2 separate regions of the Homo sapiens genome follow, and region 2 is linked to region 1. Evidence: promoter capture Hi-C in 16 types of primary human blood cells and fetal thymus (Javierre and others, 2016). All regions are on one chromosome and are shown on one strand. Each heading gives the region's core, a stretch centred on a gene start or on the middle of the fragment in contact. The rest is flanking DNA. Distances are from core to core; before and after follow the strand shown.

Evidence for each region. Contacts are between HindIII fragments. The CHiCAGO score rates a contact against its expected background, and 5 or more counts as called.
Region 2: a fragment that was not itself captured here is called in contact with the fragment with the promoter of KPNA3 in region 1 in 1 of 17 cell types (total CD4 T cells); the score reaches 5.6 in total CD4 T cells.

What each region holds. Positions count from the first base shown.
Region 1 is chr13:49,791,060-49,794,729 of GRCh38, forward strand. It overlaps KPNA3 (karyopherin subunit alpha 3), which reads right to left and starts at 1,623. Exons shown (of 17, transcript NM_002267.4): 1 at 1,379-1,623. The coding sequence starts at 1,447. RefSeq lists enhancers at 138-657, 662-1,323, 1,324-1,985, 1,789-1,918 and silencers at 779-1,348, 1,469-1,718. The HindIII fragment of the contact is 6,989 bases long and covers 1-3,670 here.
Region 2 is chr13:50,892,141-50,895,791 of GRCh38, forward strand. The region is part of intron 1 of RNASEH2B-AS1 (RNASEH2B antisense RNA 1); the gene reads right to left. Among named protein-coding and RNA genes, the nearest start is that of RNASEH2B, 16 kb to the right of the region's middle. RefSeq lists enhancers at 1,436-1,975, 1,446-1,595. The HindIII fragment of the contact is 2,618 bases long and covers 1-2,559 here.

The sequences.
Region 1 (3,670 bases), core at 373-2,872:
AGAATATATGATCTTTATTTGACTCATTTAAATGGGAATTCCACGGATATCTCCCTAGGTTCTTTCCTACTAGTATTTAATTTTGTAGCTCTGAAAAACGGCCTGAGTTTGTCTGTTTCTCTACAAAATAGAACACTGAATGGTATATTTACCCCACAACCTTCCTTAAGACAGGATAAAACACACCTCTTAATCACACTAGCTTATCAAAAATTACAAAACTGCAAATCATGTCGCCTAGTATTAGCAAAGAAGGCTGCGGCCTTAAAACCATTTTCCCCCTAACAAATCCAAAGGTCACGGTCCCAGTGAAGTTTGTGCATTATACTTACTGTTTTCAGTAGCTGCAGAGAGACCTCTAGCGCTGCCTCAATAAGCCGAGTTTGCAAATAGTACCTGCTAATGTCACCTTAATGAGACAATGGCAACATGCTGAGTAGCAACTAACTGAGTGACCGCGATGAATGTTTAGTTTTGCAACCACTTGGAAATTCTACTAGCTTGGAGCAAGAGGTATGTAAGAGAATTATGAACCTGTGTATCCAATTTATTTTAGTAAAACGTGTCAAAGAAATTATCACCCTATGCACACCCCACTCCAAGAAAGGCTAAGAAAACAAGTCCTATGAGCGGAGGTCGGAGCAACCTCTTTTCCGAAGCCTGAACACAATAGATGGCAAACTATTGTCCACCTTCAGCTCGCTCCAAATGCCAGCAGTTGCAGGAGTATGAGCTGCAACAGCTCGGCACGACTAGTCCAAAGACGAGCACTGGAATATAAGAAAATGGTCCTGGCGCATCCTACCCTCCCCCATCGATCACCCTCAAACAAGTCAGTTACCCGGCTGGTCCCCACCCCCCTCTGCGGGCCGCCACCGCCCGCCTGGGCCCGGCTCGCAGAAGGTAGGAGCCCGGACCGGCAGAGCCGAGGCTCCATGTGAGCCGCGCGGGAGGCGCAGAGGGGGCTGCACCGGACGGAAGGTTGCACCGGTGGCGGGCGCAAGCAGCGGCCGCCCCCTCGGCTGTGCGGTCGGAGGGCCCGGGCGGCAGCATCCCCGTTCATCCGGGCGGCCCTGGCCCGCGGACCCCGCCTCAGCTCCACATCCCCTCCTCGCCGACACCAGGCCGCGCCCGCGTGACGGGGCCGAAAACGCCGGCATTTCCCGGTCGCCGCGCCGGCAGCTCCGGGGGGTGACTGCAGCCCGGCCGGCGTCTCGCCGCCCGCTCCGCCCAGCCCGGGGCCGCGGTGACGGGAGGCGGCGGCCAACTCCGGCCGACCACAAGCCGACGAGAACCAGCCCGGCGCCGGCCCCCCGCCCCTCCCCGCGTCGCCGGGCCGGCGCGGCCAGGCGGGCCCAGACCGCGGAAGCACACTCACTTCCACATCGCGGCCCTTGTTCTTGAAGCTCTTGATGCGGTGGTTCTCCAAGCTGGGGTTCTCGGCCATGGCTGCGCGCGGCTCCGGCGGCGGCTACTCCTGCGGCTGCGGCGGCGGCGGCGGCGAATCTTGGAGCGGGAGGGGGAGGAGGGGGAGAGCGGGAGGGGGGAGGGGAGAGAAGAGCACGTTCTGTGACGCCTCCGAGCGCGAGGTGGCAGTAGCGCCGGGGGAGGCGCGGGCCGACTGCCGGGCCGGGTGGGGCGGGAACGGTGCTGAGAGCGGCGCGCGGCCGCGGAGGCTGGCGACACGTGACCGGGGGCGGTGACCGGCTTGGGCGTTCGCCGGGCTATACGTGCCCGTTGGTTCTCGGGATGACCCTGCCCTCTTCCCCTGCAAGGGCTCTCCACAACCCCTCGGTGCTGCAAGTTTTGTGCCAGAAATGGAGCCGGACCTGGCGACTTTTACTGCCCCTCAGGCGCGGGGCGGCGGTCGTCAACTACAGTTCCCATCATGCCACGATCCGCCTGGAGTAATTCTCCACGCCTAGTGAGAACGAGGAGAATGCCGGGACCCTTCCGCGCGCGGCTCTTTGCGCGCCGCGCTCATGTTGCTGGGCACAAAGCTCCGCCCCCACAAGGCCGCCTCTGGGCGGGGAAGAGCGGGGGAGCGTCCCTGGCACCTTGCGCCCTATCAGGAGGAAGAGGGCGGGCCTTCCTGGGAGCGCACCTCGCTGCCTGTAGCTAGAAGATCAGAAAAGGAACAACCGCGAGTGCTTTGCAGTCTCGCTTTTTTGGGGGTCTTCTCAAATAGCCACCTTCATTCGCTCTTCCCATGCTCTGCTTCAGTTTTATAAATAGCATTTCTACCTGACATGTACATGTGTATGTATGTGATACGAGTGTTTATATGCGTTACCTAGGTGCCCGCGCGGAAATTCAGCTCAATGAGAGCAGGTACTTTGGTTGAATTACTGCTGAATCTCTAGTGTCAAAACAATGCCTACCACGTCGTAGATACGCAATACTTGTTGAACTGGCGCTTTAGTGTCGCCCAGTTTCTTCATCATCCTTCCAAGCCCGGTTCTGCAACCTTCACTCTGGCAGTCCCTGTATTTACATGCCCCCCAACACTTCTTGTTCTACCACCACACAGAATCTTAGCCTTCAGGCAGCAGCCCAGCCCTGGTCCGCAGACTCTCCTGTGTAGCACTCCCACTCCCTCTGGGGGCATCGAAAGAATGAAAGAGGGAAATTTGGATGGATTACACTGATAAAGAGCTGCTTTCGGCCGGGTGTGGTGGCTCACGCCTGTAATCCCAGCACTTTGGGAGGCCGAGGAGGGCAGATCACAAGGTCAAGAGACCGAGACCAGTCTGGCCAACCATGGCCCGCATGGTGAAACCCCTTCTTTACTAAATATACAAAAATTAGCTGGGCGTGGTGGCGCATGCCTGGAGGCTGAGGCAGGAGAATCGCTTGAACCCGGTAGGCGGAGGTTGCAGCGAGCCGAGATGGCGCCACTGCACTCCAGCCTGGCGACAGAGGGAGACTCTGTCTCAAACAAAACAACAAAAACAACAACAACAAAAACAAAAAGCTACTTTCTGGAGCAGGTGGGCTTCATTTGCTTGTATGTTAATTTTCAGAATCTATGGTAGACATGAGCAGGTATGTAATGTTGTAGTACTTATAATTGAACTGAGGTCAAAAGTTGGTAGGACTATACCATGAAGAGATCAAAAAGGACAATCTTTAAAGCGAAAGGGCCTTGGCTGGGCGCGGTGGCTCATGCCTGTAATCCCAGCACTTTGGGAGGTCGAGGTGGGTGGATCACAAGGTCAGGAGGTCGAGACCAGCCTGGCCAACATGGTGAAACCCCACCTCTACTAAAAAAAATACAAAAATTAGACGGGCATATGGCGCATACCTGTAATCTCAGCTACTTGGGAGCCTGAGGCAGGAGAATTGCTTGAACCTGGGAGGCGGAGGTTGCAGTGAGCTGAGATCGTGTCACTGCACTCCAGCCTAGGCGACAGAGTGAGACTCCATCCCCAAAAAATAAAAATAAAAAATTCAAACAACCCAACAAAAACATGCAAAGGACACTGATCACAGAAAAAGAATAAATATATGAGGAGATACAGAAAAAAAAAAAAAAAAAAAAGCGAAAGGGCCTTAAAGAACCTGAGGCCCAGAAGTCAGGAATTCAGAAGCCTTTGGTGGCCAAGCTATGTCCAGGGGCATTCGTCTTGTGAGTGGTGGGGTGTGGCCTATTGATAAACACAGGCTTCAG
Region 2 (3,651 bases), core at 1-2,500, 1.1 Mb after region 1:
AAACAGTATAACATTAGACATTTCTGATTTAAGGAATAGGATTAACGTAAATCTTATATTCCACTTATATGAATCAATAACTTTAGAAGAGATTATTTGCAAAATATCTGCCTGTAATCTCCTAGCATCTTCACTGCTGTGCACAGCCCCCACCCCTCCAGCCACATAGGAAGCAGGTGGTGTTTCCTGGGCAGGGGAACATGGCGCTGGGGGAGGTGGAGCTCATTTGTCTCTTGATCTTGCCTTTGGTGGTTGCATCCTTAGCTGGACCCCATGAGACACTTACCTTGCTTTCACAGAAATCACTCACTCTGTGAAAGAAATGAGAGTAAAGGAAGGGAAAGAAAATTAAGGAAGGCAGAAGTGAACATGGAAGAGAAAAACAATAAGAAAGAGGAAATAGAAGGGCCATGGTTTTGAAATACAACGCCTGGAAAACAGAAAATGAAAACAGAATAAAGGAATGAAATTGTAAAAGCTATGAAACAAAGTAATGAGAGAAATAAAATCTTAACTCTGAAAAAAATAGATGTGATTTATGACAAATATCAGGAAAGTGACTCAAGAGCATCCTGAAATCTCCTTGATAGTACCGAAGGGAGACCTGGGCTTCTTATGATCACTGACATCTGTAAAATAAGAATGGTAGCTGTAAATTTTGAAACGATGAAAAATAACCTTGTAGCAGGAATCAAAGGGAGAGTTTGATCTAATGTTGGCCAGAATGAGTCAAATACATTCACTTCGCTAAAGTGCTCTGCGTTGGTCAGCCGATTTTTCTTTTTTTTTTTTTTTAAAGTAAAATCTTTTTTTATTATTATTATACTTTAAGTTTTAGGGTACATGTGCACAATGTGCAGGTGAGTTACATATGTATACATGTGCCATGCTGGTGTGCTGCACCCATTAACTCGTCATTTAGCATTTTTCAGATTCTACGAGACCATTCAAATTCCAGCTCTGCTTGATATTCTCTCTCTTTGTAGTGTTGAGACAAAAGCCTTACAAATGTTTGTGTAGAGAAATCAGTGATGTTAAAAAAAGCAATCACTTGTATGAAAAATTCCAAAGACAGCACTAACATGAAATGATGAAAATGCCAAAGATATGAAAAATAAAGACAACTGTTACAAGACGTAACGGCTCTGAGTGTTTGCTTTTATGTGACAGATGTTTTTAACCAAAGCTCAACACTGGCAGTTTGAGTACACTTCTGATTTTAATTTGTGTTCTATCCCCTTTTCGTATTGATGTCTACTCACATCTGTGAAGGCTCTGTAACCTGAATTTGACAGGGGAAAGTGAACAGACTGCTTTTGGAGTGCTTCCATTAAGTCCACATAACAGACTGTTAACAAAAATCTTAAATAGCTATTCTAATCATCAACAGCAATCTTACACAAATTAAATTAGGCCCAAAGGGCCCGATTAACTTTAAAATGCCTTACAGGCATGAAACATAAATTTAACTTATTTTCCCCCTTTGGAGTAGAAAGAGAGTTGTTCAGTGTGACTCAGATGCACAGTTTAAAAAAAAAAAAAGTATGCATGCTGTGAAGACATGGAGACAGGGTTTCATTTTCTTTTTCAGGAAACCACACTTACAGGCATTGAAATTCAGTTAGGCCACAGCCATGCTCCCTGTTTACATGCAAAGTAGATGCATTAAGGTTTTCAAGGTTTTAAAGTAGATGCATTAAGGTAGAGTTTTTGCAGATGGCACAGCTACTCTAATCAGCTCAAGGAAGTCCTATTGCTAAAGAAAGGAGACATATATCAACATGCATTAACATTAAAATGATGCCTTCAGAAGAGGTAAAAGTTGAACTAGAATTTCTGTAGTTCAAACCCACCTATCAAGAAATGGGTTAGATTCATGATTTAAAATTATACCACAAATCAAAGAAAAAATACTTTTTTAAGTGTCTGCTCTTCTTTATTTTAGCCAAATCTCTAGAGGTCTGTCCAAATATATTTCTTGAATTTTCTTGAACTAGCCAGCAGGTTCATCACTTGTGGATTTGCTGTAGTCTCCAATCCTCACAAGTGTTTGATAGCTTTTCTTAGGCAACTTCCTTCCAGCTGCATGGAACATGTAATTTCGGCCCAAGTCAATAGCAGTGAATGAGAAACCCAGATGCCAGGGAAAGGCAGCCTCCCAATAGATAGAAAACACCTGAAACTGGTGATCAGCAGCTTCCGGATAAGATCTCAGGAGTTGGGCCAGTGGGTTCAAGCATGCACACTAAGAGGCAAAATGGCAGAGTTTGACTGGTATATGACCTTCTAGGAGCAATCAACTGGTAAGAGAAGAGTGCTTCAAGTAAGCATGTGTACAACTCCAGTAAACACACTGCGCATGCGGCCCCTCCCAAGCACTAGCACACAAGTGGTCAGCCCACCCCAAGGGAAGAATCAGGGGAGAGGGGACCCAAGACCCTGTAAGTATGTCAGCATATAAAACTCAAAGTCAAAAGGTCAAACTGTGTACTTGATCTCCCAAGTTGCTTGCTTGGCCCTCTTCCAAGTGTACTTTACTCCCTTTCATTCCTGCTCTAAAGCTTTTTAATACACTTTCACCACTGCTCTAAAACTTGCCTCAGTCTCTCACTCTGCCTTATGCCCCTGAGCCAAATTCTTTCTTCTGAGAAGGTAAGAATTGTTGCTGCAGACCTATACAGATTCACCGCCAGTAACACTTTCAGCTCTTACAAGACCATTATAGACACCCGTGCTTGTCAACAACCTCCTGCTCTGATAACCTCAACATAAATTTATTTCATCAAACAGCAGATGCTCTCTTGTCCCACCAGCCCAGACACCAGTGGGTGAGAGTCATGGAAGGTGTTCATTTTCTGCAAAATATTCATTAGTACTTTAGAGAACCAAAGTAATTTTCAGAAAACTACCTATTTTCCAAATACCTCAGAGGAAACTGACCATATCTGGATCACTGGTGATAGAACCTAATTAGGTGAAGCCAATGGCAGTCTTCCATCCCCTGAGATTAGTACAGGGATGGGCACCATAATCCGAGATGAAATAAGCAGAATAAAAACAAGGACTCATATTTCATGTTACATTGTATACCAGGAAGTATATATCCCCCATGGCCACTGGCAGCCATATTGCGAGCACAAGGAGAACCAGTCTTAGGATGAAACTAATGCTGCCCTACCTTTGAAATCCAGTTATGTAGATAAATGTTCTTATTGCATACACAAGCTTGAGTCAGGTATTTTGATTCCTCGTAGGTGAAACTACTTAATTAATTTAAGTGGTCTTATGAGTAATTTGTACTCCAATGTCTCTGAAATTTTCCTAGAATTTAACTACTAATCCCAGGGACTGGGCCAGAAGAAGCTCTAAGTAGTAAACAATATAACTCAATGTTGTCCTCTTTTTCCAGTGCTAGAGCACTGTGGTTGACCCAAGGGTGTGAGCTTCTTTTAGTGGGTTATTCTCCCAAGATAATTCTATCATTATGCAACTAGACTTTTCCTACCCACCTGAAAAATAGGCCCTGTTATACCCTACGATGTCAAGCTAGGCTCATGCTGGAACTCCCAAAACATGAACAAATGTAGTTTTATAAAGTTTGAGCTGAAAAAATGTTGTGTTTTTTTTTTTTTCTTTTAGTTTATTCAGCTT